6 separate regions of the Homo sapiens genome follow, and all the other regions are linked to region 1. The links are contacts of gene promoters, found by promoter capture Hi-C in blood cells and fetal thymus (Javierre and others, 2016). All regions are on one chromosome and are shown on one strand. Each heading gives the region's core, a stretch centred on a gene start or on the middle of the fragment in contact. The rest is flanking DNA. Distances are from core to core; before and after follow the strand shown.

Evidence for each region. The method cuts DNA at HindIII sites, captures the fragments that hold promoters and counts their contacts. A CHiCAGO score of 5 or more calls a contact.
Region 2: a contact is called between a fragment that was not itself captured here and the fragment with the promoter of NEDD4L in region 1, in 1 of 17 cell types (erythroblasts). The highest score is 5.1, in erythroblasts.
Region 3: a fragment that was not itself captured here is called in contact with the fragment with the promoter of NEDD4L in region 1 in 1 of 17 cell types (endothelial precursors); the score reaches 5.2 in endothelial precursors.
Region 4: a fragment that was not itself captured here is called in contact with the fragment with the promoter of NEDD4L in region 1 in 4 of 17 cell types (megakaryocytes, erythroblasts, M2 macrophages and 1 more); the score reaches 17.3 in megakaryocytes.
Region 5: a fragment that was not itself captured here is called in contact with the fragment with the promoter of NEDD4L in region 1 in 2 of 17 cell types (erythroblasts and megakaryocytes); the score reaches 7.4 in erythroblasts.
Region 6: a contact is called between a fragment that was not itself captured here and the fragment with the promoter of NEDD4L in region 1, in 2 of 17 cell types (endothelial precursors and M1 macrophages). The highest score is 7.7, in endothelial precursors.

Annotation. Positions count from the first base shown.
Region 1 is chr18:58,041,449-58,046,399 of GRCh38, forward strand. NEDD4L (NEDD4 like E3 ubiquitin protein ligase) reads left to right here and starts at 2,778. Exons shown (of 31, transcript NM_001144967.3): 1 at 2,778-3,260. The coding sequence starts at 3,213. RefSeq lists a cis regulatory region at 171-583 and silencers at 2,473-2,842, 2,863-3,412. The HindIII fragment of the contact is 1,832 bases long and covers 2,074-3,905 here.
Region 2 is chr18:57,574,428-57,579,378 of GRCh38, forward strand. All of the region lies in intron 2 of FECH (ferrochelatase), which reads right to left. Among named protein-coding and RNA genes, the nearest start is that of FECH, 9.8 kb to the right of the region's middle. The HindIII fragment of the contact is 226 bases long and covers 2,413-2,638 here.
Region 3 is chr18:58,497,532-58,502,482 of GRCh38, forward strand. ALPK2 (alpha kinase 2) reads right to left here. Exons shown (of 13, transcript NM_052947.4): 12 at 518-566. Among named protein-coding and RNA genes, the nearest start is that of MIR3591, 49 kb to the left of the region's middle. The HindIII fragment of the contact is 5,513 bases long and covers 165-4,951 here.
Region 4 is chr18:57,641,524-57,646,474 of GRCh38, forward strand. It overlaps ATP8B1-AS1 (ATP8B1 antisense RNA 1), which reads left to right. Exons shown (of 3, transcript NR_164148.1): 2 at 36-529. ATP8B1 (ATPase phospholipid transporting 8B1) reads right to left here. Exons shown (of 28, transcript NM_001374385.1): 28 at 4,903-4,951. Among named protein-coding and RNA genes, the nearest start is that of ATP8B1-AS1, 14 kb to the left of the region's middle. RefSeq lists enhancers at 1,973-2,484, 2,485-2,995. The HindIII fragment of the contact is 4,262 bases long and covers 1,360-4,951 here.
Region 5 is chr18:57,668,665-57,673,615 of GRCh38, forward strand. It overlaps ATP8B1 (ATPase phospholipid transporting 8B1), which reads right to left. Exons shown (of 28, transcript NM_001374385.1): 17 at 2,804-2,916; 18 at 654-818. It overlaps ATP8B1-AS1 (ATP8B1 antisense RNA 1), which reads left to right. Exons shown (of 3, transcript NR_164148.1): 3 at 1-619. Among named protein-coding and RNA genes, the nearest start is that of ATP8B1-AS1, 41 kb to the left of the region's middle. The HindIII fragment of the contact is 251 bases long and covers 1,359-1,609 here.
Region 6 is chr18:58,323,539-58,328,489 of GRCh38, forward strand. NEDD4L (NEDD4 like E3 ubiquitin protein ligase) reads left to right here. Exons shown (of 31, transcript NM_001144967.3): 9 at 1,458-1,624. Among named protein-coding and RNA genes, the nearest start is that of MIR122HG, 120 kb to the right of the region's middle. The HindIII fragment of the contact is 2,791 bases long and covers 1-2,681 here.

The DNA of each region.
Region 1 (4,951 bases), core at 1,528-4,027:
GAAAGTTGGTATATAGTTACAAAAGGGATTTTTTTTAATGGGTTCTTTTATGGCTTAAGACCATGAAACTGGTTCTGAGCTTCCTGGTGGCCAAAGTAGATAGAAAAACACAGTCGGTTTTAATAATTTTGGTCATCTGCCATGCAAAAGCTTACCAGTTTCTTGAAAGCAAAAGAGCTTTTCTTCATAGATCTGAAATAAATGTCTAGTTTATTAGTCTTCTCACAGAGGATGTTGATGTCATGGATCACGATTTTATAAACACCCCACAATAAGTGACATATGGCAAGTTTCATATTATAGTTCCTAATAACCATCCCTCAGGGAAAGACAAGGACATGACCCTGAGTGCAGGGCTATAGGCTGTTGCGGTGGGTGTGTGGGAGTAGATGATAAAAGACAGGAAGAGAAACTGCCACACCCCTCTACAGTTTCCAGATAACATAGCCTTACCCAAAGGCGAAGCCTGGAATTGTGTACCTCCAGGATGTGGAAGGCGTGTCCTGTGTAATTAGAAATTATAATTTTCTATCAGCACATTTTAAGAATTATTTATTTATGTATTTATTTATTTAGAGACACAGGGTCTTTCTCTGTCATCCAGGCTGGAGTGCAATGGCACGATCATAGCTCACTGTAACCTTGAACTTCTGGGCTCAAGTGAACCTCTAGTCTTAGCCTCCTGAGTAGCTAGGACTATGGGCCCATGCCACCACACCTGGCAAATTTTTAATTTTTTTTTTTTTTTGTAGGGACAGGGGTCTCTCTATATTGCCCAGGCTGGTCTCGAACTCCTGGCCTCAAATGATCCTCCTGCCTCTGCCTCCCAAAATGCTAGCATTATTATTCAATTACTTTTCTTCCTTTATAATATAAACTGTACAAATTTTACAAAGGTTTGGCTAGTGAGGGTAGGTAGAGAAGCACTGACTCCCATCCATGAGGGTCACAGGCTAGGGCAAGGGCATCTGAGAATGCGTGTGTGTGTGTGTGTGTGTGTGTGAGAGAGAGAGAGAGAAAGACAGAGTGTGCACGTGTACCTTTTGTTTATCAAAAGACTTTAGGGTTGTTTTTTTTTGTTTTTGTTTTTTTTGAGACGGAGTCTCGCTCTGTGGTCCAGGCTGGAGTGCAGTGGCGCAGTCTCGGCTCACTGCAACCTCCGCCTCCCAGGTTCAAGGGATCCTCATGCCTCAGCCTCCCCGAGTAGCTGGGATTACAGGCGCCCGCCACCACGCCTGGGTAATTTTTGTATTTTTAGTAGAGATGGAGTTTCACCACATTGGCCAGCTGGTCTTGAACTACCGATCTTATGATCCGCCCGCCTCAGCCTCCCAAAGTGCTGGGATTACAGGTTTGAGCCACCGTGCCCGGTCTAAAGACTCGAGGTTTGAAAGGGTTGAAAAACCTCAGTATTGAAAGAATGGACAGAAATCTGACTTTTAAATAGTCCTCCATAAATAGTTCTCATTGGGGGTTTTGTGGCCTGTAAGTACTGTGGACTTGACGGCTCAAGACTTCTAGAGAAGGCTTCTGAGTAGGATGTTGACTCCATGGGGCTAAGTCGTCAAAGGAAACCCATTCTACGGCACAGGTTTTAAGCCAGTCATGCTGCAGGAAGGCAAAGGAGAGCTTAAGGTAGCATGGGTGGGCTCTTTTGAAAACGAACTAGCAGGGCGAACAGCAGATATTTAGTTATGTAGCTGGCAACGAGGAATATGATTCCTTCGGGTCACGCGAGTTCTCTCTGAACTTCCTTGAATGAAAATCCTAAATGCATCCTGGTAATACCCAAGTAGGCACTTTGACGTTTCCTTTTCAAAGGCAAATGGAATGTTCTGCGTCTGTTTTCTTTTTGAACTCCCAACTGCACTTAACATCTAAATTTAAGGAAAGGCTTCCGAAAAAGTCGACTGACGAATTTCTTTCACTTATTTAAAGTAGTCTCTTGCAGTCCTATAAATCGGAAGGATTAAATGAACTGCTTGCTAGAGAAACGGTAGCTGGGTGGTGGGAAGAATCCTACGGTGGCTAATAAGACGTCTCGATCATTTGCATATGCAAAGGATAACCTTAAGCTTGAGTTTGATATTTCACGTTGCGGCTCACAAATGAACTGCTTTTTATTCAAAGAACCATGCTGTCTGTTTTCGCGTGGGTGGGTGTGTAACCGGGGCGGGCGCTATGTTGGTTTTGTTCCCTGCAAGGTTGACACAGGCAATGGCGACTTGCGGCCACACTGGGGCAGCCTCTCCTCGGCTGGCAGCCGGGCCGGGCGGCTCGCTCCCGGGAGCTGACAATGTAGCCAAGTCCTGCTCGTCGGGGCCGCAAAGAATTTAAAGGGGTCTAGAAACATCCATCTTTTCCCCTTTTCACAGTTAACAGCGAGCTCAGGGCTCTCGGTAAAAAGACCACCGGGAGGAAGAAACGCTCAGGGCGTTTTTGTTATTGTTCGCAAAATCCTCTATCGCCCCCAAACGTCCAGCCCGCCCCCTCCCTAAAGCGGAGGGAAACCGGGAGAGGAGGGAGGGTCGGCGGCGCCGGCCAAGCGCGCCAGTACACGCCCCTGCGGATCCGCCCCGCGGCCGGGTGACCCCCGCCGCGCCGCGCTGGAGGCCCCGGGCCGGGGTGGGCGTGGGGCTGAACTCCGCCACCCCCGCAGCCCGCGGCCCGCTCGCCAGCCCGGCCTGTGATTGGCTTGGGGGGCGCGTGTGCCCGCCCCGGCGAACGGGGAGGGTACCCTCGCGGCGCCGGTGGGAGGAGGCGGAGGAGGGGGCGGAGAGAGCGGGGGCCCGGACGGCGCTAGCGAGGAGGCGGGCGAGCCGGGTCCCCGGGAGCGCAGAGGAGGCTCGGAGGGGGGCGGAGAGCGGCGGGGCGGGAGGGAGGCGCGGGTCGCGGGGAGGGAAAGCCCGGCCGGGTCTGCGCCGCCGCCGCGCGCAGTGAGAGGCGCCGGGGCTGCCGCCCGGTGCTCGGCGCGCTCTCGGGAGCCGCCCGCCCGCTGGTCCCGCAGCCTTCCGGGAGGAAGCGGTGCCGGCAGCGTCCAGGGCGCGCTCTCGGGCACCCTCACCTGCCGGCGCCCGGCCGCTTACCCGGCAGGGCGTGCGCAGGGTAGGGTGCGGGACCGGGGGGACCTGGAGGCAGAGGGGAGAACCGGCCGTCCGCGCCGCAGCACAGCCGCTGGGAGCGCCTCAGACCCCGCGCGGGGCGCCGGCTCCATGGCGACCGGGCTCGGGGAGCCGGTCTATGGACTTTCCGAAGACGAGGTGAGTGGCACCCCCTTCCTGCTCGGGACTCCCCGGGGAGTTCCTATCCCGCGCCGGCAGGGGGAGGGGAAAGGGGCCGTCCCCGGGGTGCTCGTGCCCAGCGTCTGCAGGGGAGCCCCAAAGCGGGAGCGCCCCGGAGCGGGATCCAGGGGAGCTTGGGTCCTTCCGCACCCCCCACCCTCCGCAAGCCGAGCTCATTGTTTGTAAATAAAGCGGCGCGACGCCCTTGGAGCTGGGGGTTCACTCCGCAGCTCCTCGCTTTCGGGAGGAGAGGGAGGGGGCATGCGTGCCTCTCTTCCCTCTTCCTCTCCAAGCAGCGTCTCCCGGGGCTGTTGGGCAACTTTCCGCCTCTCGCCCCTGCAGCCCGGGAGTCCATGATGCATGTCACGTCTGGGTCGCGCGGCTGGAGACCCGGGACTGCGGAGAAGCCGGATCGTTTCCCCCTGGAACTTTCTCTCTCATGATTGTGTGGATCAGCAGGCGCTCAGAAGCCTGTGCGTGCTTATCCCGGCGGGAATGGGGGACACGCTGCGTGTGTCCCTCCCCTCGTTTTGCAAAGTCTACGGCCAGGATTGTGGATTTCGGAGCCTCGGTGGGGGAGGTGTTCAAGGCTGGTGGCAGGTGCTCCTGGAAACTTGGGGAGGAAGCTTGCAGCCCTGCCATTTTTTCCTCCCGAGGATTCAAAGCCCGGCACCTCCAGGGTGGGTGGGGAGAGGAAAGCTTAATTGATCTCTTTTATTAATAAAGCGACTGAATAAGCCACGCCTCCCAGGCGGTCGGTTTCACTGGAAAGGGCTTTGTTTTTACCTTCATTCTCTCTTCCGTGTCTCCCACTCCCCCCTTTTGAAACAATCCTGCTAAATCACTGCCTAGTCCTCTCTCGACCAGCCACGCTCGGCTCTTATTGGTATGTTGCTCTGCCAAAAAGGGGGGTGGGACGCTTGTCGCGGGCGCGGCGTGACAGGCAGGCTGGATGGAGCAGGTAGGAGTGGTTTGCCATCTGGCGGGGTGCGCGCTCAGGTCTGGCTCCCCTTTCGAGAGGTGAATTTTACAACCCAAGAAGCATTACTCAGCAGGGAGGTATTTCCTATCCTGGTTGTGCATTTCATGAAAAGTTGATGCCTGGAAATTCAGGCGTTCTCGATTTCTCTTTCTTCCCCTCCCTCCTTTCTTTTCAGAGGTTCCCTCTTTCTCTCGTGTTGGGGGTGGGGTTGGAAGAAAGGCTATTATCTGAGACAGGCTCGCGTTATGGCTCCGCTTTCTGCGGCTCTCCTACCCTGGCATGGTGTGTGTGTGTGCCTGTGTGCTACGTAAGTGTGGAATGAAAGGTATTTTGGGGTGGGAAGGGTGTTTAGGGTATGAATTTTTTTCTTAGCGGTGCTAGGCAAAGCTTGATGTATTTATTTGATCAAAGAATGATCACAGTGCAAATAATGTGTGATTTGTGTGTTTATTTTGCCTCGCTGTGCTTTTGTAAAATAATTTCCCGTTTTGTGTAACTACCTGGGGATAGGTGACAGTAGCATTGTTTCATTGACCCGGGGGGCTTCTCCTCTCCCTCCTGGCTTCTCTCTTTGAGGAGCTTTCCCTTGCATCCTCTACTTCTCCATTTAATTAGTGGCAGTAGAGGGCAGGCCCTGAGTTGCAGAGACGCAGACATTCCTAAACAAAGGGGCTGCTTGGGTTGACGT
Region 2 (4,951 bases), core at 1,276-3,775, 470 kb before region 1:
GGTGCTAACATTCAAATTAGTCCCAGGCTACAGAATCAACCCCTGAATAAGCAGGAAGAAGCAAAAAGAAAGCAGAGCTCCATAACAAGTTTTAGGTCAAGCAGCTTCTGGAAACTTAAAAAAACAAAGTGCTATGCAAAAATGTAAACCTAAAATCCAGATCAAGCTCCGGAGTCAACACAGCCCAAAGTGAGCCAGGCCAGGAGCTCCCCACTCCTAAGCCCCGCCAGAGGGCAAGGTGAAGTCGGAGCAGGACCAGGTGCCTCTGGCACGCTGGCAGGAGCCACCAGAAGACCTTGCGTGTCCCCATGAGCAGGTAGCCATGGGATGGCAATAACTGGGGAACTAAAGATCAAGGAGCATTTCTTCCATTCATTCATTCATCTTTTTTTCATATTTAAAAATTGAGATATAACTCACATACCACAAAATTCACCATAATCTGAACAATTCAGAGGTTTCTAATACATAAGGAAAGGCAGGAAACCATCACGACTATCTAACTCCAGGACATCTTTACCCCACAAAGAATCTTCGTATCCATTAAAGCCACTCCCTGTTCCCTCCCCTCTCACCCCTGGCAACCAGTAATCTACTTTCTGGGTCTATAGATTTGCCTATTCAGGACACTTCATAGAAATGGAATCACATGATTGTGTCTGGTTTTACTCAGCATAAAATGTTCATGATTGTGTCTGGTTTTACTCAGCATAAAATGTTCATGCTACGTGTCGTAGCATGAATCAGTACACTTCACTCCTCTTTATTGCTAAATAATATTTCATTATATGGTTATACCCTCTATTCACTTTCAATAAAGCAGCTGAAAAATAACCAGCCTGAAGTTTATCTAAACACCGTTATTATGAACGCTGAGGGGTCTACTTCCTGAATCTCCTACACCAGACTACCTCTGACCACTGCAGTGACTAAACCAATGCTGCTGAGACAGAGCCTGTATAGAGAAACATTCTTTATGTGCTCGAAAACTAAAGATACTATGATGACATCTTTTTTGTTTTTGTTTTTTTTTGAGACAGGGTCTCACTCTGTCACCCAGGCTGGAGTGCAGTTGCACAAACAAAGCTCACTGCATCCTCGACCTCCCGGGCTCAAGTGATCCTCCCGCTTCGGCCTCCTGAGTAGCTGGGACCACAGGCACATGCCTCCATGCCTGGCTACTTTTAAAATTTTTTATATAGACAGAGTCTCGCCATGTGGCCCCGACTGGTCTCAAACTCCTGGCTCAGGCTCCCAAAGTGCTGAGATTACAGGTGTGAGCCATTGCCCCAGGCTTATGGTGACATCTTAATGGGCAATTTTTAAACAATTATTAACAACATTTGGCAATAACGTAAGGCAGCAGGGTATGTCAAATGTAAACAGGTAGAAACTGTTTTCTTGATCAAACCTGTTGTATAAGTGGATGAGGTAAAAATCTGAATTCTCAACCTACTTTTTCAGAATACGAATCAATTCCTGGGGAAGGAGAAATATGGCATTACAATGAGATCAGGGATTTTCTCATTTAGACCCCATTATAAAGATTAACTAAGGTCCCTTTTCACATCAATGCCTTCAACCGGGGTTTTTCAACCTCAGCACTACTGACGTTTGGGGCTGGAGAGTCCTTTGTTGTAGAGGACGGCCCTGTGCAATGCAGGAGCCTTGGCAGCATACCTGGCCTCTACCTGTACACAATAATAGCACACACCCCACCCCAGTGTGACAACCAAAAATGTCTCCAGCCATTGCCAAATTTGTCCCAGGAGGCAAAAATGCCCCCTTCCCCCTATTGAGAATCACTGTCTTAGAGAAAGAGGGCTTAATCCCCTTCTAAAACAACCAAGCAACTGCACTGAAGATGTGGTTGTTATATAACTCTTCCATGCTCGAGTCCTACAACTGCATTAACGGGTGTGTTGAGTTTTCTTTCCTTGATATTTGAAAATTCCAGATGCATTATTTTGTGAAACTAATATTCGTTTAATCTTTCTACTTAGACCACTAGTCTTCTCCTGGGATCCTGTCTTTCACCTTCAAAATCTGTGACTCACAATAAATTAAGTGCATTTTCCCATGGATTGCTGCCAGTTAACAGATTACTGGTTAAAAAAACCTCAGGCTAAAAGACTTACCTAAGCCACAGACGGTATCAGTGTGCAAACGGGATTTAGAGCTGTTTTTCATCTATAACACCTGAGCTCAGAACAAGAGTGGCTTTAAAGGGGATGCTACTCTGCCCTGCTCATGGTTTTGCAAACGCATGTTGATCTTACACATGAAAGAGATGCACACGACTTGAAAATACCTAAATACACATGCACTTAATTCAAAACTGTGTTGTGCATGATGAATAGCGCATTAGTAAGCCCCAGTCTGACACCCCTCTATTCCAGAATGTGAAGTGAAAGCTTTAGTCAAGGGTCTCCATCTCCTCTCCCTCCAGACAGAACACACCTGAGACCAAGGTCTGAACGTTCATGTTCCGTTTGTTTGAATATAAAAGTGTATACAGCAAAATATATTTAAAACTTCTCACTTGGAAAGGTTTCAACATTTTGCCATTTTTATATCCCAGGACTCTCAAAATACAAGGTTTTTCCGTGAAATATTAAATGTACGTAACAGAAACTTAAGCTTGTCAATTAATAAACAATAATTCTATTCTACTCTATATGGTCAGCCTCAAGAAAAAGTAATACGATCCCAGCTCTTCATTAAACCTCTAAGACATGATTGGCCTGTGGGTCTATGATGCCTCTAGAACAGAATTTGGTGAACTATAGCCCATGCACTAAATCTGTATACACACATACACCCCTACTGCCTGTTTTTGTAAATAAAGTTTTACTGGAACACAGCTCCCCTCATTGTTTATGTAATATCTATGGCTGCTCTCACACTACAACAGCGGAGTTGAATAGCAGCAAAAGACAGAGTTTGGCCTACAAAGCCTGAAAAATTTACTACCTAACCCTTTACAGAACTAATGTCAACCCCTGGCCTAGTGTAGTGTCTACTCTAGTATTGCAGTCTAGTCCAGCCCAAGCATTAAGCAGCACAATGCCTTCATAATGACTGCCATCAGAAGAATCCACAAAGACACTCACTGCTTCACCATTTCTAATATTAAAAAACTAGAAATCACCTACGTGTCCCAGAATGTTGGTCAAGGTAGTTTATGACTTAATAAAATACTCTTCAGTTACTAAAATAATATAGACAAGTATTTATGATGATAAAGTAAATAAAAAGAGGGCATTATAAATATATGATGTACAGTACGGTCACATCTTGCTAAATACATACAGAGTGAATATTTAATAGTCATACAGACAAAATTGGCCTGGCTGGTCGCTCACACCTGTAATCCCAGCACTCTGGGAGGTTGAGGCAGGAGGACTGCTTGACCCCAAGAGTTCAAGACAAGCCTGAGCAACACAGTAAGACCTCGTCTCTATTTTTTTTTTAAGAAGACAGAGAGAGACAAAATATTGGGTGGTAAGATTATTCATAATGTTTTAAGGTTTTTTTTGTTGCCTATCCGTATTCTCTAAAATGATCCCATTTATTTTATATAAATATGATCTAAAGTTACTTAGTAGAATTTAAAGACTTTCATTTAATTTTAATAATATTAAGCCTACTTATATTAATGAGTTGCTGCTAGAAAAACACACAAATGAAATAATTTTTCTTCTAGGATTCCAAACTGAATCAGTTCTTCAGTTTCTATCAAATCCCAACCCTCAGTGCATATGGCTGAGGTGGGGAGAGGGGCTGGGAGGGGCAAGGAGAAATGGAATGGGCCCTGCTTGGCAGGCTGCCAGATGAAGAAGGTATCTAATGCCCATCCCCAACTAACCTCAGGTTACACAGCACTCAGTCATCATACCCATGATCATATAGCAAAAAACAATAAACACACAATAAGAAAATTTTGGTTCTGGCCAGGCACGGTGGCTCGTGGCTCATGGCTCATGCCTGTAATACCAGCACTTTGGGAAGCCATGGCAGAACTGCTGGAAGCCAAGAGTTCAAAACCAGCCTCGGCAGCAAAATGAGACCCCCATCTTTACAAGAAAAAAAATTTGTTTTAATTAGCTGGGTGTGGTGGTGTGCACCTGTAGTCCTAGCTACTTGGGAGGCTGAGACAGGAGGATCACTTAAGCCCAGGAGTTCAAGGATGCAGTGAGCCATGATCACACCACCGCACTCCAGCCTGGGTGACAGAGCTACACTCCTCAAAATAAAAACGGTGGCTCACGCCTGTAATCTCAGCACTTTGGGAGGCCAAGGTGGGTGGATCACTTGAAGTCAGGAGTTCGAGACCAGCCTGGCCAACATGGTGAAACCCCATCTCTACTAAAAATGCAAAATCAGCTGGGTGTGGTGGCATGCACCTGTAATCCCAGTTACTTGGGAGGCTGAGGCAGGAGAATGGCTTGAACTTGGGAGGTGTAGGTTGCAGTGAGCCAAGATCAAGTCACTGCACTCCAGCCTGGGTGAAAGAGCAAGACTCCCTCTCAAAAAAAAAATAAAATTACAGGCTCATGCCTGTAATCCCAGCACTTTGGAAGGCCAAGGCGGGCGGATCACTTGAAGTCAGGAGTTTGAGACCAGCCTGGCTAACATAGTGAATTCCCGTCTCTACTAAAAATACAAAAATTAGCCAGGCGTGGTGGTATGTGCCTGTAATCCCAGCTACTCGGGAGGCTGAGACATGAGAATTGCTTGAACCCGGGAGGTGGAGGCTGCAGTGAGCTGAGATTGTGCCACCACACTCCAGCCTGAGAGACAGAGTGAGACTCTCTCAAAAAAAAAAAAAAGATATATATATATATGTGTGTGTGTATATATGTGTGTGTGTGTGTGTGTGTGTGTATATATTCATACCTGTATAATTTTCATCAAACAATGTGTGATCTAGCAGAAAGGTCATGGAGTT
Region 3 (4,951 bases), core at 1,671-4,170, 460 kb after region 1:
CAAAAACAGGTAACTAATCACAGCTCTGCCAGAGACATTGCCTCCTATGATTATCATCATGGGGGTCTGTGAGCTGCCTAAAATACTTTTTGGAGAAAAATTAATTTAAAATATACAAATTGAATTCACTGCATTCAATTGCAAAAAAAATTTTTTTTCAAAGAAGCTTTTAATAGTGAAGATATTAAATGTAAAAGAACGGAATATTCCCAGTTAAAAGGCATCCAAGTAATGCCAGCATTTTCTCCCCGTGGTACTCCTATTGGTTATTAATCTTGAAATGTGTTTGCAAGAGTTCTCATTTGTTTCAAAGTTAAGAAACAAATGTGCTCCCCTGTGAGAACAAAGTCCATAAATATTTTATGTAAGTGAGAGAAATGAATTCATTCCAAGAACATTCGTCATCCACAGTTAGGACAAGAAATTCACTTTGCCCACCTCAGCCTGACAGTGTCTGCCTGGAAGGTGTCTGTAAGCCCAGTGTTAATTGATGCACACTCCATTTTTTCCTACTCACCCTTTAGCCAGCGTTGCTATGCCAACGTCAGTTAGCTTCATTCCTACACCTACAGGAAGAGAAAGCAAAGATGGGAGTTTGTGTTACTCAGGGCCCCTCAGGAAGTTGGGCCATCTAGCCCCAGGGAAGGGGTAATGACAGCTCATCCTCCTTCTCCTTCCTGCATAAACACTCGAGGCCTCTTTCATATACGCATCCAGCTTTAGGCAGGGACCATGGGGAAGGTGGCAGTTAGGGGGAATCAAGTCTCATGTGAGCAGACAACCCAAGCCCTCTCGGCTCTGGAAATGAAGTCCTCTGCCTGCCTGGCCCACCCACCCCATGACAAGGAGGGAGCTGGCCACTCTGTGAGAAAATCTGAGGCCTGATGCTTGTCCCGTAAGCAATCTCCCCAGAAATACGGTGACTTTGGCTTAGGTCTGGCTCCCCGTTCTTCAATGAAAGTGGAAACCCTTACATGATGGAAAGAAAAGTAGGCACGGCCTGGGATAGTCAATGCCAATAGCAAGAGGGTTTGATATGGTTTGGCCATGTCCCCACCCAAATCTCATCTTGAATGTAGCTCCCATAATTCCCATGTGTGGTGAGAGGGACCCAGTGGGAGATAATTGAATCATGGGGGCAGTTTCCCCCATACTGTTCTCATGGTAGTGAATAAGTCTCAGGAGATTTGATGATTTCATAAGGGGCTTCTCCTTTTCCCTTGGCTCTCATTCTGTCTGTGGCCTGCTGCCATGTAAGACGTGCCTTCCGCCTTCCACCATGATTGTGAGGCCTCCCCAGCCACATGGGACTATGAGTCCATTAGCCTCTTTTTCTTTGTAAATTACCCAGTCTTGGGTATGTCTTTATCGGCAGTGTGAAAATGGACTAACACAGGGCTCAAGGGGCATGTGTTTAGTTCAAAGCCAAACTTCAGACATATGATTTCTCATTTCCATAAAGATCGTTTTTCAATTCAGGACTGAAGGTTTTCTGGGTGGTCAGTGTTAGACCCCGGGAAACAATCCTGAGTTCTATGTAGACACTGAACCAATGGCCTGGCGAAGCAGACATTTGGAACACGTGGTCCTTGGACTCATCCTAACTGCTACCCACTAAACCATGGTGGGGATAGGTGGGGGATATCAAAACCAAAACAGTAGAACAGCTACCTGAGCTTCCCACTCTGGTTCAGCAAAAAGCAATAGGCACCCATTGCAAGCATATGGAACCCTTTTTTGCATGTGCCTTTCCAGCAGGAGGGGTAGGGAGGGTAGCTAGGGAGCCAGGGAGGCAAAGGGAATAGACTATCCCACTGTTTTCCACTGTGAGGGAGGATAAGAGCTGCCATCCCCTTCTGTAGTGGAAAGAGCCACCCTCTCTCACTCTACCCCCAGTCTCAGCCTGCATCCTGAACCTCTCTCAGGTCTAGTGGAAAGTAAAGCACTTCCCTGATGCCCAGAGTGTGGATTCCCTCTTGACCTTTCCAGAATCTGCATGCCCTGACCACGCACCAATTCCATTCCTGTCTCCTTAGGGTGAGGGTTATGGGCACTTGCTCCAACGCAGTGGACCTCTGCCAGGACCTTACCCGTGCAATCTAGTGATGACATTTTATCCCATGGCCCATAGTGCCACCCCACCAGTGTGTCTGCACCTGCTAGATGCCTGGGTCCTGCCTCCTGTGCTCTTGCCCCTGCCTCTTGGGCTCCATGGGCCGGGCTGTGAGCACTGGCATTCCCCACCTCCAGCACGTGACTTGCCCATGGAGGGCCCTGGCAGCCTAGAAACCAGTTTGGGCTGTGGAAAGAAAAAAACTCAGCATCCCCCTAAAGCCAGCCATGAGGATCAGATCTGCTGGCCACCTACTTCCGTGGTTCCCCACCCAAGTGGAGTGCTGTTTCTGAGGCCCAGGAAAAGACAGCTAAAGGATTAATGCTCGGATTCAGCGTTATCTGCTGGGAGCATGGCAAAAACAAAGGACGTGTTGGGATTCAGGCTGGTTAGGCAGACAGAAGCCATGAGGCCTGCTTTTCTGCAGTGCACCTGTGAGCTAAATTAGACATGGCACTTTGGGAGAACCAGTGACCATTTTAAAAGTCTCTTTCGCAGTTGGTAACTAATTCATCTCATTCTTTCAAAGCCGCTAATAACTCAAACATATGTAGAAATGCTTCACATAGCTTTTATTGCAGGGACTATGCTTTGAAAAAAAAAAAAAAAACCCACCAAATTGCAAACGCTGTCTCTGGACATCTTGTTTCATGGAAAATTGTATTTTAAAATTACAGCTCTAAGCCGTATGGAAGTCCAATTTGAAAAAGTCATTTGGCAAAAGGTCCTTGAACTTGGAGAATTGCTTTCCCTTGTTTCCCACAATTACCAGCTGTCACTTACAGTTTAGAAAGACAGAATATAATTTTTAAAAGAAAACTTCCCCCTGTCAGTTTAATGATTTGCCAGCAATTATGTCAAGGTTACTAGGAATCTCTAGAGTCTAAAGTTAAATCCTAGTGTGCAGCTATCAAGCTGAGTTGGAGATAACAGTAATCTACAGGTTGTTTCTAACAGAAGAAAGGAAATGAACAGCATTAGAAGTTCATTCTCCACTTGGCTGGGCACAGTGGCTCATGCCTGTAATCCCGGCACTTTGGGAGGCCCAGGCAGGTGGATCGCTTGAGGTCAGGAGTTCAGACCAGCCTGGCCAACATGGTGAAACCCCGTCTCTACTAAAAAATACAAAAAAATTAAAAAAAAAAAAAAAGCTCATTCTCCAGAATTCAAGGTCTTGAGTTTTTTGGGTGACAGCTTGTTAGAAGGCGTGGTAGTCTCACCAGCATGCAGGTCTCAGGTCCAAATCACAGGCTCATCTTTTACCCCACAAACCTGCAGGACCTGGCATAATCTTCTAAATGAGCAAATGCAGCCAGGAAGAATTAACTTTTAAAAGTCCAAAAGGGTGGTGATAGAATTTGAGTTTAATTCTAATTCCAGTGTCTCTGTAAAATTATAAAAAGTGGAGTTTCCTTAGAGAATAGATGCGCTATCTCATGCCACAATGACAATGACAGTAAAAATATTTTTTGTCCATCAACAGAGAGTAAATAAACACCATTACTTAATGCCACACCACCACGTTAAACCACACACGTCATTTACAGAGAGATGTGATATTCCATTACTGTTGTTTACTAGTACCTGGAAGTGAAACTAACTGTGCATGAAGCCCTGGGTGCTGCTTTTCAGCATGAGAGCTGAATTTAATACAAAATTAATTCGCAAGGAGAAAAGATGGGGGACAGCAGCAATTGCACAGCCAGAGTCTAAATAGAACAAACAGCTGTCTGTTAAGACCATATGTTTTGTGTGTGTGTGGCAGCAAAGTCTCTTCAAAGAGTGAAGTCTGACTTAAATTTGCAGATTGGCTTCATCTGCAAGGCGGTAATGTTGCATTTCCCAGCTGGCTTGCAAGGAGTCCTTCCAAGGGCTTAGGAGGAAGAACCGTACACATACCAGAGCCCTCTAACATCAGGAGAGACTTGGAAAGGTCTGGAAGTAAATATCTTGCAAATTTGCTAAATTGTTATTTGTGGAAAGAACTTGGAATTCAGAGTCAGAAAATGCGGGTTGGAGTCTTGGACCCCTCTACTTACTAGCTGAGTGACAGCAGACAGAGACAATCACGGTCTCCAGGCCTCAGTTTTCTCTTCTGTAAAATGGGGATCATAATATCTATCTTCTCTGCAGGGTTATTATGAAGATTAAGTAAAAATAATAGAAAAAAATGAATGGATACAAAAACTGATGAAATCCAAGTCAAGTTTCTAGTGTAGTTGATTATATTCTGCCAATGTCAATCTCTTGGTTTTGATAATGTACTATAGTTATGTGAGATGTCACCATTAGGTGAAGCTGGTGAAGCATACGTGGGAATCACTCCATATATTTTTACAAATCCTTGTGAGTCTATAATTATTTCAGAATAAAGGCTGGGGCACAGTGGCTCATACCTCTAATCCCAGCACTTTGGGAGGCCAAGGCAGGAAGATCACCTGAGTCCAGGAGTTCAAGACCAGCCTGAGCAACAAAGTGAAACCCCATCTCCACACACACACACACACACACACACACACACACACACACACACACAAAGAAAAAAAAAAGGAAAGAAAAAATTAGCCAAGTGTGATGGCATACTCCCGTAGTCCCAGCTACATGGCAGGATGAGGCAGGAGGGTCACTTGAGTCCAGGAGGTTGAGGCTGCAGTGAGCTGTGTTTGCGCCACTGCACTCCAGCCTGGGTGACAGAGTGACACCCTGTCTCAAACAAATAAAAAAAAATGGGTTAAAAGAAATAGGAACCATTTATTATGTGGCAATGCTGCAATAAGCGCTTTACTATCTCATTTAATTCTCAAAACAACTCTGTGTGGAAGTTACTGAAGCACTGAG
Region 4 (4,951 bases), core at 2,241-4,740, 400 kb before region 1:
CTTATTGACCATTTATATCTTTTTTTTTTTTTTAGATGGAGTTTCTCTCTTATTTTCCAGGCTGCAGTACAGTGGCGTGATCTCGGCTCACTGCAACCTCCACCTCCCAGGTTCAAGCGATTCTCCTGTCTTAGCCTCACGAGTAGCCGGGATTACAGGCACATGCCCCCATTCCCAGCTAATTTTTGTATTTTTAGTAGTGACGGGGTTTCATCATATTGGTCAGGCTGGTCTCAAACTCCTGACCTCAGGTGATCCGCCTCGGCCTCCCAAAGTGTTGGGATTACAGGCGTGAGCCACCCACTGTATCTCTTGTTCGGAGGAATATCTAATCAAGAAAATCATTTTTACTGTTTTTATTTTTTGGTTTGTTCGTTTTTTTCCTGTGAGATGGAGTTTCACTCTTGTTGCCCATCCTGGTGTACAATGGCGCGATCTCGGCTCACTTCAACCTCCGCCTCCCAGTGCGTCCGGAATTGGTGGGTTCTTGGTCTCACTGACTTCAAGAATGAAGCTGCGCACCCTCACGGTGAGTGTTACAGTTCTTAAAGGCGGCGTGTCCGGAGTTTGTTCCTTCTGATGTTCAGATGCGTTCGGAGTTTCTTCCTTCTGGTGGGTTCATGGTCTCGCTGGCTTCAGGAGTGAAGCTGCAGACCTTCGTGGTGAGTGTTACAGCTGTTAAGGTGGCGCGTCTGGAGTTGTTCGTTCCTTCCGGTGGGTTCGTGGTCTCGCTAGCTTCAGGAGTGAAGCTTCAGACCTTCACGGTGAGTGTTACAGCCGTTAAGGTGGCGCGTGTGGAGTTGTTCGTTCCTTCCGGTGGGTTCGTGGTCTCGCTAGCTTCAGGAGTGAAGCTTCAGACCTTCACGGTGAGTGTTACAGCCGTTAAGGTGGCGCGTGTGGAGTTGTTCGTTCCTTCCGGTGGGTTCGTGGTCTCGCTAGCTTCAGGAGTGAAGCTTCAGACCTTCACGGTGAGTGTTACAGCCGTTAAGGTGGCGCGTGTGGAGTTGTTCGTTCCTTCCGGTGGGTTCGTGGTCTCGCTAGCTTCAGGAGTGAAGCTTCAGACCTTCACGGTGAGTGTTACAGCCGTTAAGGTGGCGCGTCTGCAGTTGTTCGTTCCTTCCGGTGGGTTCGTGGTCTCGCTAGCTTCAGGAGTGAAGCTTCAGACCTTCACGGTGAGTGTTACAGCCGTGAAGGTGGCGCGTGTGGAGTTGTTCGTTCCTTCTGGTGGGTTCGTGGTCTCGCTAGCTTCAGGAGTGAAGCTTCAGACCTTCACGGTGAGTGTTACAGCCGTTAACGTGGCGCGTCTGGAGTTGTTCGTTCCTTCTGGTGGGTTTGTGGTCTCGCTAGCTTCAGGAGTGAAGCTTCAGACCTTCACGGTGAGTGTTACAGCTCATAGAGGCAGTGTGGACCCAAAGAGTGAGCAGTGACAAGATTTATTGCAAAGATGAAAGAACAAAGCTCCCACAGTGTGGAAGGGGACCCCAGTGGATTGCCTCCGCTGGCTCGGGCAGCCTGCTTTTATTCTCTTATCTGGCCCCACCCACATCCTGCTGATTGGTCCATTTTACAGAGAGCTGATTGGTCCATTTTACAGAGAGCTGATTGGTCTGTTTTGACAGGGTGCTGATTGGTGCGTTTACAATCCCTGAGCTAGACACAAAAGTTCTCCACATCCCCACTAGATTAGCTAGATACAGAGCGTCTACACAAAGGTTCTCCAAGTCCCCACCAGAGTAGCTAGATATAGAGTGTCGATTGGTGCATTCACAAACCCTGAGCTAGACACAGGGTGCTGATTGGTGTGTTTACAAACCTTAAGCTAGATACAGGGTGCCGATTGGTGTATTTACAATCCGTTAGCTAGACATAAAGGTTCTCCAAGTCCCCACCAGAGTAGCCAGATAGAGTGTGGATTGGTGCATTCACAAACCCTGAGCTAGACACAGGGTGCTGATTGGTGTGTTTACAAACCTTGAGCTAGATACAGAGCGCTGATTGGTGTATTTACAATCCCTTAGCTAGACATAAAGGTTCTCCAAGTCCCCACTAGACTCAGGAGCCCAGCTGGCTTCACCCAGTGGATCCTGCACCAGGGCCGCAGGTGGAGCTGCCTGCCAGTCCCGCACCCTGCACCTGCACTCCTCAGCCCTTGGGTGGTCGATGGGACTGGGCGCTGTGGAGCAGGGGGTGGTGCTGGTCAGGGAGGCTTGGGCCTCGCAGGAGCCCACCGTGTGGGGGAGGCTCAGGCATGGCAGGCTGCAGGTCCCGAGCCCTGCCCCGCGGGGAGGCAGCTAAGGCCCAGGGAGAAGTCAAGCATAGCAGCTGCTGGCCCAGGTGCTAAGCCCCTCACTGCCCGGGCTGGCGGGGCCCACTGGCTGCTGGAGCGTGGGGCCCGCGGACACCCACGCCTACCCAGAACTCACGCTGGCCCGCAAGCACCGCGTGCAGCCCGGGTTCCCGACCACGCCTCTCCCTCCACACCTTCCCGCAAGCTGAGGGAGCCGGCTCCGGCCTTGGCCAGCCCAGAAAGGGGCTCCCACAGTGCAGCGGTGGGCTGAAGGGCTCCTCAAGCACCGCCAGAGTAGGCGCCAAGGCCGAGGAGGCGCCGAGAGCGATCGAGGGCTGTGAGGGCTGCCAGCACGCTGTCACCTCTCACCGGGTTCAAGCGATTCTCCTGCCTCAGCCTCCCCAGTAGCTGGAATTACAGACGTGCGCCACCACACTCCGCTAATTTTTATTTTTAGTAGAGACGGATTTCTCCATGTTGGTCAGGCTGGTCTTGAACTCCCGGCCTCAGGTGATCTGCCCGCCTGGGCCTCCCAAAGTGCTGGGATTACAGGTATGAGCCACTGCACCCAGCCTTTACTGTATTTTTTAGCAGAAAGAAAATGATTGCATTACAGTGGTTATTTTTAAGGGCCCCAACCTCCACTTTGTCCTGAGATCTACGTTGTGTTGTTTTCAGTGTTTTAACAGGCCTTTTTATTTTTATAAATGCCCCAGAAGTTGTAGCGCAGCCCTAACTTTCTAGCAGGACTTTTAGAAGCTGACAATTTTCCTAAGTTTCATTCACATCACATGAAGGCAGCAATTGTTAAAATATATTTAGATTCCATTAGGGTACATTTTGCTATCACATTGAAGTCTCTCAAGAATCATTTTATTCCCATCAGATGTTGTTACTGAGCAGTTTCTAGTGCTGAACATGACTAAGAACCTTTAGGTGGTGCTCTTTGATTAAAAACATTTATCCCTCAAACAACTTAAATACAGTAGTATATTGCAGGAAAAAGTGACCTTTATTTTTTTAGGGATGATCTCCCAGGTCTGCTCAATTTTTCTGCCATTTCTATTGCAGAGGCTAATAATTTGCCCATCTCCTCCCAGCCCAAGCACCCCAAGACTGATACTTTTCTATCACCTGCTGCTAATTTTGCCTCCCAAAGAGTCTCCCATCTCGACGCAGAGAGAACCTTCTTAGTGGGGTCACAGCTTCCCTTGCGTCCAAGAGCTGTCTGTCCCACAGCCTGGTCAGACTCCCACAGCCTCGTCAGACTCCCACAGCCTCAAACCCCAGGTTTGCCACTCACTTCCTCACTCACTCCTCTTTGCTCATTTTTCTGCCAACGATTCGTCATGTATTTCTAGGACTATCTGCTCACTTCTCACCCCTTACTTTTTTTGTTTTGTTTTTTGAGACGGAGTCTCGCTGTCACCCAGGCTGGAGTGCAGTGTCACAATCTCAGCCCGCTGCAACCTCCACCTCCCAGGTTCAAGTGATTCTCCTGCCTCAGCTTCCCAAGTAGCTAGGATTACAGGTGTGCACCACCATGCCTGGCTGCTTTTTTTTATTCTTAGTAGAGATGGGGTTTCACCATGTTGGCCATGCTGGTCTCGAACTCCTAACCTCAGGTGACCCACCACCTTGGCCTCCCAAAGTGCTGGGATTACAGGTACAAGCCACCGTGCCCAGCCCCAGTCCTTACTTTTGGTTGAGGGTTACCTTTCCTTTCATTCTGGCTAAAGAGTTGAGGTCAGTTGGAAAAACCCAGACTCAATCTTCCTTTTTTTTTTTTTTTTTTTTGGAGAGAGTCTCACTCCATTGCCCAGGCTGGAGAACAGTAGCACAATCATGGCTCACTGCAACCTCTGCTTCCTGGGTTCCAGCAATTCTCCTGCCTCAGCTGCCAGAGTAGCTGGGATTACAGGTGTGCACCACCTCACCCGGCTAATTTTTGTATTTTTAGTAGAGACGGGGTTTCGCCATGTTGGCCAGACTGGTCTCAAACTCCTGGCCTCAAGTGACCCGCCCACCTCAGCCTCCTAAAGTGCTGGGATTATAGGCATGAGCCACCATGCCTGGCTGATCTCCCTAACTCTAAATCTTTACCCCTCTGTCTCTAAAGTCTGGCCACCTTTTTAATTCTTTTAGAGACAGAGTCTTGCTCTCACCCAGGCTTCAGTACAGTGGCATAATCGTAGCTCACTGCAGCCTCAAACTCCTGGGCTCAAGTGATCCTCCCACCTAAGCCTCCCAAGCAGCAGGGACTACAGGCACATGCCACTACACTGAGATGTTTTTTTTTGAAAAGACAGAGTCTTGCTATGTTGCCCAGGCTGGTCTCAAACTCCTGGCCTCAAGTGATTCTCCTGCCTCAGCCTTCCAAAGTACTGGGATTACAGGCGTGAGCCACAGTGCCCGGTCCTGATCACCTTTTCTCCATCACCTTTTCCCTAACACTTAGTTTCCCTTTCTCCATCACTTCTTCCCTAACACTTAGTTTCCCTGTCCCCGACTTTCTCACTACTAAAGGACCCCTACATTCCTCTAGAAACCTTGTGGGACTAGATTCTTCTGTCACATACCCTATTCTTAAAAATAACAACAACAACAAAAGCCAATTTAAATACTTTAGAAGATCATACTTTTCAAAGATTTTACTAAATCATT
Region 5 (4,951 bases), core at 234-2,733, 370 kb before region 1:
GGGCCAATGGCCAGTGTTAACAGGGAAGGCTGCCATGTTTCACAATTACTGCAAACCAACACACCTAAAAACTTTTTCCCTAAAGGATGAACTATTTAATTTACCAAGACAAAAATGCAAGTACAAAATCAAGGATGTTAAAAATACACTTTTCTTGTGTATTTGTGGCTTTATACTGACATAAACCGTAAACCAGTTGCAATACTAGCTATTTGTTGAATATTTTCCACTTATCTAAACCCTACAAAAACTATGTATTAAATTTGGAAAACTTTTAGAAACAATATATTTTTCTTATTTCAAGATTTTGCAGAATATGAATTGTTTCGGTAATTCCCCCAATGTAATAAGTATTAGATGCAGGTTTGTTATTGTTTAAAAATTATAATAAATTTTAATAAGTGATATACAAATTATGGAATTAAATTAGAACTTCTCCTAATGTATTTTGTCTTTTGGTTTCTCATAATGGCAACTTCTGTTCTGCTCCTATTTTGGTGAATAAAAGAAATAACCTTCTTCCATTGTGCCAGTGTCAAATGCTGAAGTTACAATTATCTCTTAAGCATGAGATCAAATATTCAATAAAACTTAATAAAAATTTCAATTCTGCTTAGAATATCAAAGAAAAAGTTATTAAGGCTAAAACTCACAATTAAGTCTTTTTCAATCTCCTCATATACTTTATCCAGAGCTTCGTCCCGGTTGGTGGAGGCCACACTGGCAGCCATAAACTTTTTATTCCATTCTGTAAATTCTTTTTCTTCAATTTCCTTGTAGCAAAGGCATAGGGTTCTAAGAGTTTCATTTGCAAAGATCTGTTTTATTTAAAAAAATAAATCCACCAATGCAAAGAATAGTTAATTTATGTAATTCAGGATCAAGTCTGAAATTTTACTTTGAAGTAATATACTAACAGAATTTAAAAAGAGATCATTAAACATGACAGATTCTGTACAAATACACTTTAGAGAGGGGATTAAATGTCACTTTTTTTTTTTTTGAGACAAGGTCTGGCTTTATCATCCAGGCTGGGATGCAGTGATGCAATCCCGGCTCACTGCAACCTCTGCCTTCCAGGCTGAAGCCATCCTCTCACCTCAGCCTCCCAAGTAGCTGGGACTACAGGTGTGCACCACCACGCCTGGTAATTTTTGTACTTTTTTTTGTAGAGATGGGGTTTCATCATGCTGGTCTTGAACTCACGAGCTCATGTGATCTGCCCAACTCAGCCTCCCAGCGTGCTGGGATTACAGGCATGAGCCACTGCACCCAGCCTAAACATCACTTTATAATAGACTTTGCTTTTCTAAACTTCTATAGGGTCCAGGACTGCACTTCCAGTTTCCAAAGGGAAAAGCTTACCTTTCTTCTAAATCTTCTATTACCTTTCTCATTTTCTCATTTTCTCTTTTTCTCTTCATGACTAGGAAAATATCAGACCAAGGGAGCTGCCTTGGGGTGTAATGACATAAGCACGAACCTGACAACTTTATAACTTGTTCCAACAAACTGTGATACAAGTCCAATCACCTATGAACTCTCCACTAAGCATTATTCCCTCAAACCAATTCTAAAATACACAAGCCATTGTTAAAGCTGAGGTCAAAGCTTTTAATGGAAAAGAGTATCTGGCAATTTTCCCATGATGAACGATTCAAACATTTTCTTTTTTTTTCTTTTTCTTTTTCTTTTTTTTTTTTTTGAGATGAAGTCTCACTCTATCGCCCAGGCTTGAGTGCAGTGGTGCGATCTCGGTTCACTGCAACCTCTGCCTCCCTGGTTCACGCCATTCTCCTGCCTCAGCCTCCTGAGTAGCTGGGATTACAGGCGGGTGCCACTGCATCTGGCTAATCTTTGTATTTTTGGTAGAGACGGGGTTTCACCATGTTGGCCAGGATGGTCTCGATCTGTTAACCTCGTGATCTGCCACCTCACCCTCCCAAAGTACTGGGATTACAGGCGTGAGCTACTGCACCCAGCCTGATTTAAACATTTTAAACAGTTTCAACATGAACCAGTAAACATCTCATTACTTTATAGTCACATCTTTTTTATTTTGACCAAGTTTTGCTCTTGTCGCCCAGGCTGGAGTGCAATGGTACGATCTCGGCTCACTCTACCCCCTCCCTCTGGGGTTCAAGCGATTCTCCTGCCTCAGCTTCCCAAGTAGCTGGGATTACAGGTGCCCACCACCACACCCAGTTAATTTTTTTGTATTTTTAGTGGAGACGGGGTTTCACCACGTTGGCCAGGCTGGTCTTGAACTCCTGACCTCAGGTGATACACCCGCCTTGGCCTCCCAAAGTGCTGGGACTACAGGCATGAGACACCAAATACTCAATCAGTTGAACCGCTTCTGCCATCTTGGCTAGACAAGATGTGACCTATAGTCAGCTCTGTCATCCTGTCACATATGAATGCTTTCCTTCCTTTGCACTACAACTTGAAGTTAGTGGAGGTCTTGGGGACCACACACATAGTAAGACTACAACCTAGTATGGTTATGTAGCTTGCTCAAGGCCACTGGAAGAGAGCTAAGCCATTCCCCTGCCTCAGTCCTATAGACCTTGAAGACCCACATGCTGGGAGAGGGCACCATGGTGATATCCCAGGAAGTCAGTGGCAGGGGCAGAACTGGGACCCAGGTGGCTGTATTCCTACTTTACTGCTCTTTCCACCCCAACTATTGCAAAGCAAAGGGAGGGTCAGCAGTTAACATACAGCTTTCATGCAAACTTAACAGACAGCATCAGAGAGTAAGTTCAGAATCCCTTGCAGAAAGAATAAAAGTGAAACTTACATCCAGGGCATCCTGTGTTTCTTGCTTAGTAGGATTCATTCGATGTAACCGTTCATAAATAACAGTGTCAGCACCTTTACAGTAAAGCTTGATATTGCCTTCTGGGGTTCTTACTGGTAGTAAAAGAAGGAAATAAACACAACAAAGTTTGATTTTTTATATATATATTTTTTGAGACAGGGTCTTGCTCTGTTGTCCAGGCTGGAGTGCAGCAGTTCAGTATCGGCTCACTGTAGCCTCGACCCCCCAGGCTCAAGCAATCCTCCCATCTCAGCCTCCCGAGTAGCTGGGACTACAGGTGCATGCCACCATGCCTGGCTAATTTTTATTTTTATAGACATTGGAGGTCTCACTATGTTACCCAGGCTGGTCTTGAACTCCTGGGCTCAAGCAATCCTCCTGCCTCAGCCTCCCAAAATGCTGGGATTACAGATGTGAGTTACCACACCCAGCTAAGTTTGATTTTTTAATAGAAAACTACATTTATAAAGTTAATTTGAAATGTTACTATCTCATAATTCACTGTTAGCTTAAAACCATCAGTTCCTCTAGAAAAGTGTTGCCTTCAACAAAACTGGTAAGTCATTATCTACATTGAATGTAATAGTGAAATAAATATAAAAAGATTCCTTCACAGTCAGCTCTGTTTTTTATAACCTCAGTTATTCTTCCAACAAATATTTACTGACTCCCTACCATGTGCTATGCCATGTTCTAGTTACTTTCTTTTGTAGACTTTTTCTCCATCCAACCAACAGGTAGTTTCTCACCTATGAACTCACAACACTTACTGCTTTTAATACTTCGACCACAACACCACTCCTAATGACCATTTTTTTTGGGTTTTTTGATTAATGCAATAATTGTAATACATCCCTCACTGTTAACCAGATTTTAAATCAAGGTAGATGGCAAGCATGATAATCAGTCTAGATCTGTGTAAGGGACACAGAAAGCGTTCAGTAAGTGTGCCTAAGGAGGGTGTAATAGTTAAACCTGTATATTTTTATTGGTTAAAAATTCAATCATAGTGGAGAAGGCTTGTAGATACCACCTTAACCAAGTGATCAAAGTTAACATCCCCATTAATGAGACAAACCAATAATATATACCTTCTGGCTAGGCAGGGTGGCTCACGCCTGTAATCCCAGCACTCTGGGAGGCCAAGGCGGGCCAGTCACCTGAGGTCGGCAGTTGGAGACCAGCCTGACCAACATGGAGAAACCTTGTTTCTACTAAAAATACAAAATTAACCAGGCATGGTGGCACATGCCTGTAATCCCAGCTACTCAGAAGGCTGAGGCAGGAGAATCACTTGAACCAGGGAGGTAGAGGTTGCAGTGAGCCGAGATAGCACCATTGCACTTCAGCCTGGGCAGCAAGAGTGAAACTCTGTCTCAAAAAAAAAAAAAAAAAAAGTATATATATATATATATATATATATATATATATATATATATATATAACATGTATATACACATATATACATACATATATCTACATATATACACACATATATAAATACATGTATATATAAATATACATATATAAATATATGTATATATATATAAATATAAATGTGTGTGTGTGTATACACCTTCTGATGTGATACTTAAAGAAAAGCACAGCATCACTTACGGACTCTTCCTGCCAACAATGTGTAACCTAGCTCTAATCATGAGGGAACATCAGACAAACGCAAATGGAGGGATAGCCTATAAAATAACCAGCCTGTGCTTTTTAAAAATATCAATGGATGAAAGATCAAAAAGAGATTGAACCGTCCTTGACTCAGAGTCATGATCACCTAATATAACCTGTGATCTTAGATTGGATCCTGGACCAGAAAAACAAAGAATGAACCTCCCTGGTAAAATCTGATAAAGTCTATTGATTAGATAATATTGTACTGTGTTAAATTTTCTGGTTCTGAACATTGCACTGTATATATAAGTGAGTGCTTCTGTTCTTAGGAAATACCTACTATGGTATATAGTACAGTATTTAGGGGAAAGGGACATTAGGCCTGCAATTTATTCTCTTTTTTATATTTTTATTTTCTTTTTTTATCATGTAATCTTGCTCCTTCTAACGCAATTTACTCTCAAATGGTTCAGAAAACAATAACCTGTATGTATGTGTGTGTAC
Region 6 (4,951 bases), core at 36-2,535, 280 kb after region 1:
CTCGGAGAGATTTCTCTTTAGACAATGCCATGCCTATTCCCCAATTTTAGCCCCACAGCTCTGTGAAAGTCTCCTCACACATTGAATCCTATTATTGCTATGGACTTGCAACTCTTTGTAAATTCTTTTTAGCCATTGAGGTCGCTTCAAAGTGGGTGGAGGAATTTAGAAAATCACTTTTTTTTCAAGTTTCTTACTCATTTGGCCACAGGTGACAGCCTGCAGTAGAAAAACCCTCCTCTAGAAATGCCATTCTGCAACGAGCTGACCAGAGGAATGTCCCTTTTTTCCTTCCTGACAGAGCCGCCTGTATTTACCTTGTCACAGACTGATGCTGTGGGTCCTATCGTACCTTTTCAGCACACACCTCGGCCAGTGCTGTTTTGTTAGGCAAATTCTCATATTCTCAAAGTGTCCATTAAACGAGACCTCTCTAGGGCTTATTCTCACATCTGTTTGCAGCTGTTGCATATATGTGATATGTGAATAATGTGTGTGGAGAAGTTACCCGAACACTCCTCCGCCTGAGAGATCATATTTCCAGGCATTATTTCATTTACAAGCCTTCATCTCTCTATATACATGAAGAGGAATAATGTGGGTGATAGAAATTTATGAATGTTAACATTTCATAAGCATGTCAACAGATTTTCATCTCAAATCCAAGGAATTTTTTACACTCTTCTTGCCTTCCAACCGCAGTAACCAGTGAATTACTTAATTTTCCAGTGATTTTAGCAGAGGATGTTAGGAAGGGAATACGTAATGCCTAAAATACGTGCTGTAAAAATGGAACTCGAATTTTGGTACCATGAAACCCGTTGGTGTGGACACAGCCAGTGTAGAGGGCCTGAGTAGAAGGCAGCAGCTTCCAGACTCCTGGCTCCTGCGGTTGTTTGGGATGCAAAGAGGAGGCTTCTCTCTCAAAGCCCACCTCCCTGGGGAGCAACAGGACTCTGGGCCTCTGGTCCCCTGTGCCATGAGTTCTGTTAGAACACAGGTGCAGCGCAGCTCATCTTCCCTGCTCCCTTTACCTCATAGAGGTGTTGAAAAGATGGCAGCTGTACTGTGACGCACATCATTGGCAGGGCTTTGTACAGCCTTGGAGGCCCTCCAGTCAAAATAACAAACATGACGTATGGAAAGAGTATGATGTGACTTAAGTAGTGTCACCGACTGTGCAGATCCAAATTGTGTTGTCCTGCAATGTAGTCATCTTAGAGGGCAGCACAATTAATTGGCCATTACTCAGAAGATTTTTGAGGCCTTTCTAGAATTGATATATATATATTTTTTTGGCCTTCATTTGGGAATTTACTCAAATGTGGCCCCGAAGCCATGGCTAGAGCCAGAGAGCCCCAGAGCAAGGAGAAGGGCATGCAGGGCATGCTGTGATGACCTCTTACTCACAGCCGAAGAACCAACCTCATAATCGTCCCTTTAACTTTATTCCGCAGCATGGATGGGAAGTTGTTGACTCAAATGACTCGGCTTCTCAGCACCAAGAGGAACTTCCTCCTCCTCCTCTGCCTCCCGGGTGGGAAGAAAAAGTGGACAATTTAGGCCGAACTTACTATGTCAACCACAACAACCGGACCACTCAGTGGCACAGACCAAGCCTGATGTGAGTACCGTGTGATGGTCAGGAACACGTGCACGTGCACTGCACAGCTAGGGACAAATATGGCGGCCCTTTGGGACAAGGCTGGGAAATAAATCATATGTCTATAAGAGCAGATGGTGGTGTGGTACGAGATTCCTCTCCATTTACGTAAAGCATGCAAGAGCAGTCAGAACTTGTATATTGTAAGCGATTGCCTTTGAGTCACATGCTGCTGTTTTCAATATGAGCTGATTTATTTTCTATGTCTTCTTTTATGTCGATTCCTGAAATACAAAGCAGAGGTTGTTTTTCTTAGACTTATTTTACATTTGTTGATTATATTGTTTTCTTCTTCACCTTTCTCTCCCAACTGACCCAGAACAGAACCGGCAAGCAAATTGGCTTTGCAATTTTCTGTTTTCTCTAAGTTTTTGGATGTTTACTCTCTTCAATGCATTGATTTGGAAACCTCAAAAATTTTTTTTTCTTTAAGGAAATTTGAGCCCCTTAATATAATCAGAAACACATGGGAGAGTTGCAAAATCAGAATTAGTAATTACTGTGTATTTTAATCCCTCACCAGCCTCAGGGATGCAGTAAACCAATTCCTGTTTTGTTCCCTCAGCAATTTGTGGTTTGATTGATAGCAAATAAACACTGGTTAAAACTCATGGACTTTAAAAATGGTTTTGTAGCAGCTTGTTTTTAAATCATTTTATACAGCAAGATCTAAGTCTATTGATAATACATCGAAGGGCAAAAAGAAAGTCTTAAGGAAAAGGAATTTTATCCTAGAAATTATGAGCTGCCTAGCAGCCAAGACAAGGAGGAAATTATCAATGAACTATACAACTTTCAGTATGTAATAAAAGCAAGTCTACTGGGTAGTATAATTTTCTTGTCTACTCGAACTCTGAAAGAAAGTGGCTAATGATACATTTTAGACAACAAGCAGTATGAGGTATCATGTTCTTAAAAACCTTTTATCTTTAGAAATTGTAAAGATACTCCACATATGACTGTGGGTGGGGAGGGTGGCCAAGTTTTCTGGTCTAGGTTTTGTTTAATTTAGAGATAAAGCTTGCAGAATCTGGAACAACGAATAGCCTGTCTTCTCTGAGCCCCCAGGTGGGTTCTCGTGAATGTCAGCTGTTCGTGATCAGCTTTAGACTACCCAGCACGGGCATTAGCTCAGGACAGCAAAATGGTCTCAGGACAGCAAAAATATCAGATCAGCTGGGTAATGCTGAACTATCTTTTGTTAAAGTTTTTTCCCATGGAAATAGCTTGGTTGATTCTTTTTGTTTTTTATATTATTGCTTACTATTTCCTTTTGATTAATGCCCATAGCTATTAGAATTATTGTAATCCATTGTAGCTATTTGTAGTAAAAATGAATTTGGACCCACCTTGGGCTTGGTTACATGTAGTGACTAGAAGAATCTTGGTAGCAATATCCTAAGCAAAGCACCATTACCTACCTTTGCTCAACAGCATGAGAAAGGAGTACTGAAAAGGTAGATCCTCATGCGACCTCTGCAGAAAAGTGGCCAGGAGCAACTCACAAAGGAAAAAATCCTGATAGCTAATATGTATATGGAAAAATATTCAACTTCATAAATAAGGATCATGCAGATTAGAGTTTGTATTTTGGGGACAAATAGGGATAATTGCTACTTTCTCTGCCTCACAGAGTTGTGAAACTAACGAGGGAATTCTTGAGAAAACACTTCATACATTTTAAAATATATACTATTTTTTTGATGGCTCCACAGGTGTAGACATGTCCCCACACTCATCAAGAGGTGTACGTTAAACATGAACAGCTTTTTAATGTGTTGATTAGACCTCAATAAAGTGATTTAAAAGAGAAACCATCTTTGGTGGCAGTGTCCCAGAAACTAAAACAAAAGGTATAACTTGCTGGCTCTTCACTAGTCTAGAGCAACAAGGGAAAAATGCAGTTCTTTTTCTGTTGTTGTTTGAGACAGAGTCTCACTCTGTCACCCACAGTGGCACCATCTCGGCTCACTGCAACCTCCGCCTCCCAGGTTCAAGCGATTCTCCTGCCTTGGCCTCCTGAGTAGCTGGGATTACAGGCGCCCGCCGCCATGCCCAGCTAATGTTTGTATTTTTGTGAAGATGGGGTTTCACTGGCTTGGTCAAGCTGGTTTCAAACTCCTGACCTCAGGTGATCCGCCCACCTCAGCCTCCCAAAGTGCTAGGATTACAGGTATGACCCACCACGCCCGGCTGAAAAATGCAGTTCTTAATCCAAGTTCGGGCTCACATGTAGTTTTGGGAGAAGGCAGAGGCATAACTGCCCCATCAAGGAGGCAGCAATGCCAAAGGGAGAGGCTGAGCCAGGAAGGACACAGCAGAACTTGGCAGAACCTGAGGAGCGCCTCCTTCCAATGGGCATAACTTCTAGAAGGCAAGAGGAAAGTTAGTTAAGGAAAAAGAGTTTCCACCACAACCTCTGCTAGCAGGCCCTTTATTGGGATACAGTATAAGTTCATTTCAGAATGTGTGAGAAAACTTTAAAATTTGTGTTTTAGAAAGAGTCTATAATGAGTGTTCTTGATAAGTACTATATTTCAGTTAGTCTGAAATGACGATTTCAACTTTTGAGATACTGACTTGTGACATAATTTTTGTTAATGGGATATGTTATCTTATTGAAAGTATCTGTGAGAGTTTTCCCTGAAAAAATTTTTGGCATTTAAACTTGTACACTAAAAGCCTCTGACTAGTATTTCCCCCAAAGTATGATTGCCTATAATTTACTGCAAAAAAAAAAGTTTTCTTTTTTCTTTTTTTTTTTGTTTTGTTTTGTTTTGAGATGGAGTCTCACTCTGCTGCCCTGGCTAGAGTACAGTGACATGATCTCTCAGCTCACTGCAACCTCTGCCTCCTGGGCTCAAGTGATTCTCCTGCCTCAGCCTCCTGAGTAGCTGGGACTACAGGCACGCATCACCACACTCGGCTAATTTTTGTGTTTTTAGTAGAGGCGGGGTTTTGCCATGTTGGCCAGGTACGTCTTGAGCTCCTGACCTCAAGTGATCCGCCCGCCTTGGCCTCCCAAAGTGCTGGGATTACAGGCATGAGCCACCATGCCCAGCCCAAAAAAGTCTTCCAAATTGAATCAAAACTTTTAGATCCTGAATTGAGAACATCACATGACAAAAAATAGGGTATGATGTTTTGGTGTTCTTCAGACCCCGGCTGACTTGAGAGGTTATCTCCTGATGTTATTAGGATTTTTAAAGTAGGGTAAAGGAGGTAAATGCAGTGTCACGATTTTGAGATTCTGTTAAAATGAGCTAGAAAGCAGCTGAAAAAAATTCA